2 separate regions of the Homo sapiens genome follow, and region 1 is linked to region 2. Evidence: promoter capture Hi-C in 16 types of primary human blood cells and fetal thymus (Javierre and others, 2016). All regions are on one chromosome and are shown on one strand. Each heading gives the region's core, a stretch centred on a gene start or on the middle of the fragment in contact. The rest is flanking DNA. Distances are from core to core; before and after follow the strand shown. Region 1 overlaps C8orf76 (chromosome 8 open reading frame 76). Region 2 holds the start of LINC01151 (long intergenic non-protein coding RNA 1151).

Region 1 (5,418 bases), core at 1,130-3,629, 530 kb before region 2:
TCACCTCTGGGTTGATTACTCTCCAGTCTTTATCTCTAGTCTCATCTCTGGGACATGTGTCTCACATCAGATTAATTGCCTACTAGGTGGTTAACCTGGGATAATTATTGATTACTCTTCTGTCACTTCAAGTACAAAATGTCTAAAATGGAACTACTCATCAGAACACTTCCTGTAATCTCAGCACTTTGGGAGGCCAAGGTGGGTGGATCACTTGAGGTCAGGAGCTCAAGACCAGCCTGGCCAACATGGTGAAACCCCATCTCTACTAAAAATACAAAAAACTAGCCGGTTGAGGTGGCAGGCACCTGTAATCCCAGCTACTCGGGAGGCTAAGGCGGGAGAATTGCTTGAACCCGGGAGGTGGAGGTTGCAGTGAGCCGAGATTGTGTCACTGCACTACAGCCTGGGCAACAGAGGGAGACTCCATCTCAAAAAACAAAACACAAAAAAACACTTCTGATCAGTCTTTTAATTCTCCCAAGTTCCACATCCTCCAGGAAGCTTTTCCGGAATATTCTGCTCTGTGGTCATTTCTCCTTCCTCTGAGCTCAGATAGTGATTGCTTGAATAGATAGCTCTTTGGGCCCTAAGAAGACATAAGAATGTATCTTATGTTTTCAACTAGATACTAGGTTCCTTATAAGTAATAGTATGTTTTGAGCATCTTTGTATTCTTCACCATGCTCGATAAATCTGTTGGTTGGGTGGAAGAGTAGTTTCCTGTGTAGACAATGCATGTGATATACCAGTGGAGCTTTTTAAAAAGATGGAAAATGTCTGGGCCCTCGTTAGGATTGTAATTAGGATTATAATGTACATTTTGTTTTGTGCTTATTTTTATTTTTTAAAAGGTCTCATTCTGTTACTCAGGCTAGGCTGCAGTGCATAATCTTAGCTCACTGCAGCCTGAAATTCCTAGGCTCAAGTGGTCCTTTCACCTCAGCCTCCCAAGTTCGTAGGATTACAGGCACCCACCACCATGTCCAGCTAATTTTAAAATTTTTTGTAGAGGCAGGGTCTTGCTATGTTGCCCAGTCTGGTCCCAAACTCCTGGCCTCAAATGATCGTCCCGCCTTGGCCTCCCTAAGTGCTAGGATTATAGATGTGAGCCACCATGCCTGGCCTTTATTTTGTGCTTTTAATTTTAGTTGACTTGTAATAACATAGCCCTGTATCCTTAAATATTCTATGATCACATGCTTTTTTTTCCTGTTTGTAATTCTTTTATTTGAATTAGGATCCAAATAAGGTCTAAATACTATATGTGGCCCTTTTGTCTCATGTCTTTTTTATTCTATAACAACTGCTCTTCTCCCTCTTTCTTTTTTACTCTGATAAAATATGTAACTTAAATTTGCCATCTTAATCATTGTTAAATGTACAATTCAATGGTATTAAGTACGTATACAGTGTTGTGCCGCCATGACCATTATTTCCAAAATTTTTTCATCACCCCAAACAGAAACTCTACCCATTAAGCAATAACTCCCTATTTTCTTCTCTCTCTACCCACTAGAACCTCTAATCTACTATTTTTCTCTGTGAATTTATCTATTCTAGATATTTCAAATAAGTGGAATCATGCCATATGTGTCCTTTTGTGTCTGCTTTATTTCACTTAGCATAATGTTTTCAAGGTTTATCCATATTTAGCATTTATCAAAACTTCATACCTTCTATGGCTAAATAATATTCATATATATGTACATATCTCATTTTGTTTATCTACTCATCTTTTGATGGATACTTGAGTTGTTTCTACCTTTTGGATATTGTGAATAATGCTGCTATGAACATTAGCATATAAGTATGTTTAAGTCTCCTTTTTTGTTTGTTTTTTTTGTTTGAGACGGAGTCTTGCTCTGTCACCCAGGCAGGAGTACAGTGGCACTATCTCGGCTCACTGCAGCCTCTGCCTTCCAGGTTCAAGCAATTCTCCTGTCTCAGCCTCCCAAGTAGGTGGGACTACAGGCGTGTGCCACCATGCCCAGCTAATTTTTATGTTTTTAGTAGAGAAGGGCTTTCACCATATTGGCCAGGCTGGTCTCGAACTCCTGATCTCAAGTGATCTGCCTGCCTCGGCCTCCCAAAGTGCTGGGATTACAGGCATGAGCCACTGCACCCGGCTAAGTCTCTGTTTTTAATTCTTTTGGGTATATACCTAGGAGTAGAATTACTGGGTCATATATTAGCTCTGTTTAACTTTTTTAGGAACTACCAAACTGTACATTTTATTTTCTATGTTCTGATATTTACCTAACATTATGACATGGGCATGACCCTATATCCTAAATATTATTTGAGTACATAATTTTTAATGACTGGATAGTCAATTTTTGGACAAACTATAATTTACTTAGTTCCCTGTGTTGAACATTTAACAAATACTCAGTACCTATTTTAATAAATCCTTGCAAGAAAATCAATATGTGCCTTTGTACCTTTTGGAACAGATTATTAGAAATAGAATCGCTGGATTTAAATATATGAGCATTTTTAAAGACTTAAAGCACATTTCCAAATTATCATTTAGAAAGGTTAGTTCAATTTATATATCCTCTAGCAATATGTGAAAGCATTGTTTTTTCTACCCTGATCCTGACTATTAGATTGAACCATGTGAAATCAATCATTTTGACCTCTGTTTTATATAATTTAACTTAATAATATTACTTTAAAAATTGGTAGCTTGGTAGATAAAAATGTAATGTTTTTAGCATTAATGTTTATTTACTATTAAGATGAACAATTTTTTCATGTGTTATTGGCCATTTGTATCATGTCAAATGCCTAGTCTTGCTTTTGCTTCATTATTCTTTCTGTTTTTCATAGCAATTTTAAGAGTTCTCCCTATATTAGACTTAAGTATCTTTCTATAGTTACTATATTTTCTGAAGTTTATGATTTTTTTTGGCATATGGAAGTTTAAAATGTTTATGTGGCTGAATGTTTTGGCAGATTTTTGACACCTGTAAATATTGTGCCTATCTGTCCCTCTTTTGGGAATAGTGTGTTGTTTGGGTCTTACTATTATTCATTTATCTTTTTTTAAGAAAGGCATTTTTGGTGTTTTATCCCAGATTTTAAAATACTACATTTCACTGAATCCAGGAAATCATCAGTTTTAAGACATATCATTTGATGTGTCACTAAAAGAAAAATAAGATGCCTGCCGGGCGCGGTGGCGCACGCCCGTAATCCCAGCACTTTGGGAGGCCGAAGCGGGTGGATCACGAGGTCAGATCAAGACCATCCTGGGTAACACGGTGAAACCCTGTCTCTACTAAAAATACAAAAATTAGCCAGGCCTGGTGGCGCACGCCTGTAATCCCAGCTACTTGGGAGGCTGAGGCAGGAGAATAGCTTCGATCCAGGAGGCAGAGGTTGCAGTGAGCCAAGATTGCACCACTGCACTCCAGTCTGGGCGACAGAGTGAGACTCTGACCCCCCGCCCCCCAAAAAAAAGAAAAATAAGATGCCATTTACACTATCACATAGAGCCTCACTCCAGTGGTTATCAAATACATTTTTTAAAATTTTTTTTGGAGGTGGGGTCTCACTCTATCTCCCAGGCTGAAGTGCAGTGGCACAGTCATAGCTCACTGCAGCCTCCAACTCCTGGGCTCACGGCATCTTCCCACCTCCGCCTCCCAAGTAGTTGCTGGGACTATAGTTGAGTGCTGCCATACCCGGCTGATTTTTAAACAATTTTTTGGCCGGGCACAGTGGTTCATTCACATCTATAATCCCAGCACTTTGGGAGGCAAAGGCGGGTGGATCAGTTGAGGTCAGGAACTCAAGACCAGCCTGGCCAACATGATGAAACCCTGTTTCTACTAAAAATACAAAAATTAGCTGGGCATGGTGGCACTTGCCTGTAGTCCCAGCTACTTTGGAGGCTGAGGTGGGAGAATTGCTTGAACCCAGGAGACAGAGGTCACAGTGAGCCAAGATCGCACCACTGTACTCCATCCTGGGCTACAGAGCGAGACTCTGACTCAAAAAAATGATACTTTTTTTTGTAGGGACGGGGATCTTGCTCTGTTGCCCTGGCCGTTCTCTAACTCCTGGCCTTAAGCGACCATCCTGCCTCGGCCTTCCGAAGTGTTGGTGTTACAGATGTGAACCACCACACCTGGCTCAGATACATCTTGATTTTAGAGATGTTAAAATACAAAAACAAAAAAGTATCTTAGAACTGGTGAAATACCAGGCTTTAGTAAATACTGACTGTTGCCTAGTGAAGCTTGGCTCTCACTGGCAATTTCCTCAAACAATATGTAATCTTTGAAGATTTAAACCCAGTCCGCAAAACCATTATTTGAGCCTGCTTCTAATTCATTATAATTTGAGTTTTCATGAACACATTCAATATCCGGGTTTGCAGGAACCTTGGAGATTATCTAATGCAAATCTATGTGGAACTTAAATTCCCTCTACAACATCCCTGCTCCATGACTACATAAGCTTTCGTGACAGATGGTATGAAATGTTTTGGAACTTAATTTTAGTTCATTGTCATTACCCAAGGTCAGTCTGCTTACTTAGTGGGTTCAGGTACAAGCTTTCTACAACCTAACTTTGTGATGTCTTCTCAAAGAAACTAACCCAGAATCTTGGGACATGACCCTGTGTTCATCTGGGCCTGATTCTGACCAGTAGGGAGCAGTATTGTACCTTCATTGGTAACGGGCTCCTTAAATCCCCAAGATTGCTTTGGTTATAGAGGGATTAGAGTCCTTTTGGGTCAGGAAAAGGTGGGCCCAGCTACATGCTACAGTTGCATTCTCACCAACAGAATATGCTCTTTGAAACAAAAAGGGTAACTCAGTACTCCTGGTAAGCCAAATAGTACTGCTGCTGCAGCAGCACCAAAGTGATTCTTTCACTTGGGGAGAATGAGGGTAGAAATATGGGATATTTTATTTGTCCTTGGATAACTACTTCTGAGATCAGATAAGATCGGGCACAGTCAGGGTGGTATGGCCATAGACGGATAACTACTTCTGAACAAACATCTTTTCAATGTGTTGGGAATGTCCCCTGGCTGCTCAAGTATTTTCTGCCTTTGAATGAAAGCCTTCGCAGTTGATAACTAGCATTCCATGTCTCTGCCTCTTTTATTGGGACAGTTTTTTTTTTTCCTCCTGTTATAGGTTATGGGAGAAGATATCCCAGAAAAAATAAAAGATGAAGTTCACCCAGAGGTGAAGTGTGTTGGCTCCGTAGCCCTGACTGCCTTGGTGACTGTATCCTCAGAAGAATTTGAAGACAAGTGGTTCAGAAAGATCAAAGACCATTTCTGTCCATTTGAAAATCAGTTCCATACAGAGATACAAATCTTGGCTTAGTGGGTTATAAAAAACAAAACCACAAATATCTTGTACTGTATTAATTGTCCTTGTTTACTTCAGA
Region 2 (4,991 bases), core at 833-3,332:
CTTGACCTTGTGATCTGCCCATCTTGGCCTCCCAAAGTGCTGGGATTACAGGCGTGAGCCACTGCGTCCGGCTGTAACTTTTTATTTTTAAATAGTTATAGACTCACAGAAAGAGGCCATAAGTACAGGGTCACATATACCCTCCCCTCAGCCTCCCCGAGCAGTGACATCTTATAAAGCTGTGGTAAAATAGCAAAACCAGGGAGTTGGCACTGGTAGTGTTGAACTATACTGCAGATTTTATTCTGTTCTCAGCATTTTTTAAGCTTGCATTTGTGTGTATGTAATGTTATCCCATGTATAGATTCATGTAACCACCATCCCAATCAAGATACAGAACTGTTCCATCACAGTAAAAGAATTCCATTCAGGCCGGGCGCGGTGGCTCATGCCTAAAATCCCAGCACTTTGGGAGGCCGAGGTGGGTGGACCATTTGAGGTCAGGAGTTTGAGACCAGCTTGGCTAACATGGTGAGACCCCGTCTCTACTAAAAATACAAAAATTAGCCAGGTGTGGTGGCACACACCTGTAAATCCCAGCTACTCCAGAGACTGAGGTAGGAGAATTGCCTGAACTGGGGAGGCAGAAGTTGCAGTGAGCCTAGACTATGCCACCACACTCCAGCATGGGTGACAGAGTGAGACTGTGTCTTAAAAAAAAAAAAAAAAAGAATTCCATTCTATCTGTTTGTATTCCTCCCCCCTCATCCTCCTGCTCCCTGGCAACCACTAATCTGTGCTCTTTCTGTCATCGTTTCGAGAATGTTGGATAAGTGGAAACAGATCCGAAAGGTATGTAACCTTCTGAGACTGGCTTTTTTCACTAAGCATAATGCCTGAGGTCCATCCAGGTTGTTGCATGTACCAAGAGTTCATTTGCTTTTGTTGCTAAGTAGTATTCCATTGTATGGAGGTACCACAGTTTGTTCCATCCTTTGCCTATTGGACATTTGCTTTTTTTTCCCTCGAGTATTTTGCCATTATGAATACAGCCACTACGAATATTTATATGCAGGTTTTTGTGTAAATATAAGTTTTGATTTCTCTGGGATAAATGCCAGGAGTATGACCGTTGGGTCATATGGTAAGTGTTTAATTTTGTAAGAAACTGCCAAACTGTTTTCCATGGTGGCTGTACCATTTTACATGTCCACAGGCAATGTATAAGAGATCTAGTTTCTCTGCATCCTTACCAGCATTTGATATTATCACTATTTAAAATTTTAGCTATTCTAAGTGGTGTGTAGGCATATATTTTTGTGGTTTTAATTTGCAGTTTCCTAATGACTAATGATATTGAACAACTTTTCTTGCTTATTTGCCATCTGCCTATCCTTTTTGGTGAAATATCAGTTCATGTCTTTCAGCCATGTTTAATTTTTTTTTACTGTTGAGTTTTGAAAGTTCTTTATATATTCTAGAAGATGCAAAATGTTTGTCAGATATTGGCTTGCAAATATTTTCTCCCAGTCTGCAGGTTGTCTTTTCACCCTCTAAACAGAGTCTTTCACAGCATGAAACAAATGGAGGCTTTAAATGGCCATTTCAGAAAAGCCTGACCTAGCCTTGAGAGCGTCGGACACGGTCACTCCACCGGTTCCCACTCACGAGGGCAGATCATGGGTTTAAATCCCATTTGGGTGTGCTAATTCAGCTTCACAATAGCTCACCCACCATGGGCTTAACGCTATTCAGTGGCCACAGGTGAGTGTGTTTCAGGACATCACAAAAAGATAAGCTGAGAAAGAGTGGCCCACCGCTGCCAGAACAGCTTGAGGGCAAGTCCCCACTGACCCGGAAAGTGAGTCAGTTGCATCACCCCCTTAGAAACCTGGAAAATGCTTCATCATCGGTGTAGAGCGAGAGCCAGCATTCAAAACGCCAGGGGGCTTATCAGGCCATTTCACCACAACATAAAGTAACAGGCAGACTTGAATTCATCTGGCACTGTTGACCAACACAGAGAGCCAAAACACACACGGAATTCAAAATCAGAAATAATCCCAAGTTTGAGTCATCCAATGTGCTTGTCTACATTGATTGCACTCACCAGATAAAAGTCCAATGCACTCTGTGGGGTGAAACAGCCTCTGTCTCAGGTTGGGAGTTGCTGCCATGGAGACCACAAGAGTGGAGATTTTCTGACACACAGAAAGGAATGGATTACAGCTCCTTCTTATGTAAATTTCCATGGAGGGGAAAAAAGATTAAAAGGAAAATAATTCTGCTTTAGTCGTTTTCCTTTAAGGTGATAAGATCCTTTGATTCCATCGTGGAGAAGAAGGCAACAGCTGTTTGTCACAAATGGTAAGACATTTTATTTGACATTTTGCAGAAACTCGATCTTTAGCTGTAATTTTGACCTAATGGTTACAGTGAGTTGTTTTTAAGAGAAAGATAGATTTTCTTGAAGCCAATGGGCCTCAGACATGAAGAATGAAGAACTAATTGTACTAACCTCAGTTTCTGAAGTGGACAGGGAAATCTTACCTTCCTGCCTCTCTATGTTCAGGCTGAGTGGGTCAGAAGGAGAGTGTATTAGGTAAGAAAATTTATCAGTATTATTTAGTGAACACTGGATTTATCCTTTTGCATTCTGGCTGTAGTACCCAACTTCCACATGGCAATGCACCCTCACCTCAGCCCTCCGCCCACGTGGTCCCCTTGCTGAGCACTTTAATGAATGACTGCATCTCATTTTCACAGCTATTTGATGCACCTGCTATTATTACTCTTATTACCATTTTCCAGTGGGAAGCTGCTTCTTGGGCAGGGTGGATTTCCATCTGCGTCTCCTTTTCGGTGTTGAAAGCTGGTAAGTGAGGACACCAGGATTGGAACCTGGGTAGTCTGAGTCCAGAATCTCTATTTTCAAGTCTTCCTGCTCTCTGCTTCTGGCAAGTTTGATGTCCACTTTTGATCTTCACCTACATTCCAGCATAATAGCTACTTTTGGTTGTTTTCTCAGCAGCACAAGAGAAGTGTGGCGAGATTTTTAGGTGAGTCATCTAGAGAAGTTAATCTTATTTTGGGAATTCTACTGGCAGCTTCAGGTGGGGAAAATTTTGTTATTTTCTATCCTCCTCTAGGTTCTAAAAGGGAAGAAAGATGGTGAGCGTAGAAAGATGTGACTGTATTCACTATTCACCCTTTGTCGGGTGGTGAGTAAGCAGCTTGCAAAAGCAATGAAGTTTGGAACAATCCAGAGAACCAAACTTTCAGCTGCCAGAGATGGCACCTGGTATCCTGGGTACATCTGCCTGTAGGGCCCAGAAAGAGCTGGAAGCCAAGTGCATGGATCAGGTCTGTAGGAAGGTGGGAGAGCCAGGAATCGAGTGTCAGGGGGCATTTATTACCCATGGAAGCAGGTTTTTGTCAATTTTGTTCACTGCTGGATCACTAACACCTGGACTGGTGCCTGGCCAGGTGGTGGCTTCATAATCATTTGTTGAGTGAATCAATGAATGAATGAATGAACAGCTGTAGCAGATGCTAGCAGGGCTTCCTATTTCTTCCATCACCATAAAGGTGAAAGACATCATAAACGGGAATTTAGACAATCCTCAGAAATTTTCAACTGCCATGTATCTTGACTTGATGCTTCTAGTAGTTATATTTATTTGTAATTCAATCTTTCTTTTTAAATAGTTGACCAAGTGTGGTGGCTCACGTAGTCCCAGCACTTTGGGAGGCTGAGGCAGGAGGATCACTTGAGCCCAGGAATTTGAGACCAGCTTGGGCAACATAGTGAGACCTCATCTCTTAAAAAAAAAAATTAGCTGGGTGTGGTAGTGCACACCTGTGGTCCCAGCTACTTTAGAGGCTGAGGTAGAGGATTGCTTGAGCCTGGGAAGTTGGGGCTGTAGTGAGCTTTGATTGCATCACTGCACTCCAGCCTGGGTGACAGAGCAAGACCCTGTCTCTAAAAAATTAAATAAATAATAAAAAAATTAAAAAGTAACTCCCTTTTCTTTATTTTCAGGCTTCCTTCCCACCTGCTAATTCAAACACTTTACAACCAAAAATATCTTACCTTGATCCTGTTTCTTTCTCTATAACCTCTCTATTTCTGTTTCTTTCAACCAAATTTCTTAGGTCATCTATAATTTTGTTTCTACTTTTTCTATGCATGCCTCAATCCATTGCCAACTCCTCAACCTGCCCCAAGTGCCCACAACTCCACCAAAAGTAATTCTAACATTTTACCAATCCAATACATCACAGTTTTTTATAAAAAACTTAAGAAATATACTTTAGTTGAATTTGAAAGAGTTGCCCACTTGTGTTAAATATTTCTTTCCTTGTGTCTGGGATATCATTTGATTCTGATTCTATTCCTAATTCTCTGACCACCCTTTCTTCGTAGATTTCTCTTCCTTTGTTCAGCCTTTCACATCCTTGGAGTTCCATCCTCTGGTGATTGTTTGTCCTGTTCCATACATTCTCCTTATATGAGCATTGTGTTTTAGCTTATGAATGGTCACATGACCTAGCCAGGCCAATCAGAGTCTTCCATGAGACTTTTGTTTATTTATTTATTTATTAATTTATTTATTCTTCCACATGCCATCTCATTTAACCTGGGACTTTTGTCAGAATTATCAGGAAAGACATTCTTCTTTCTTGGCAACAGTTGACTTTTAGGATCACAGTAGTCTGGGGCTGCCAGGGACCATGTTCTCCATTAGCAGAGAGCCTGGCTGAGAACAAAGTCAAAACATGGGAAAGCAGGATGGAGAGACATATTGTCATCATGTTACCCCTGGATCTAGCCATATTTGAGGCTTAAACTTATCCTGGACTCTAAAGTTATGGAACTAACATATCTTTTTAAATAATTTAAGCAGGTTTGAGTAAGATTTCTGACACTTGCAACCAACAGTCCTGAAAAAGATACCTCTACTCAGTCTTCCTATTTCCAATCTCATAACTCCAACCCGATGCTGCCAGAAGGAATGATATGAGATACAGAACAGGTAGTGCCATTGCTC

What was found. The method cuts DNA at HindIII sites, captures the fragments that hold promoters and counts their contacts. A CHiCAGO score of 5 or more calls a contact.
Region 1: a contact is called between a fragment that was not itself captured here and the fragment with the promoter of LINC01151 in region 2, in 1 of 17 cell types (naive CD8 T cells). The highest score is 5.1, in naive CD8 T cells.

What each region holds. Positions count from the first base shown.
Region 1 is chr8:123,220,039-123,225,456 of GRCh38, reverse strand. It overlaps C8orf76 (chromosome 8 open reading frame 76), which reads left to right. Exons shown (of 6, transcript NM_032847.3): 6 at 5,160-5,418. The coding sequence ends at 5,354. Among named protein-coding and RNA genes, the nearest start is that of MIR4663, 6.9 kb to the right of the region's middle. The HindIII fragment of the contact is 3,745 bases long and covers 507-4,251 here.
Region 2 is chr8:122,691,197-122,696,187 of GRCh38, reverse strand. It overlaps LINC01151 (long intergenic non-protein coding RNA 1151), which reads left to right and starts at 2,082. Exons shown (of 4, transcript NR_126348.1): 1 at 2,082-2,307; 2 at 2,707-2,815. RefSeq lists enhancers at 1,266-1,766, 1,587-2,786. The HindIII fragment of the contact is 4,977 bases long and covers 269-4,991 here.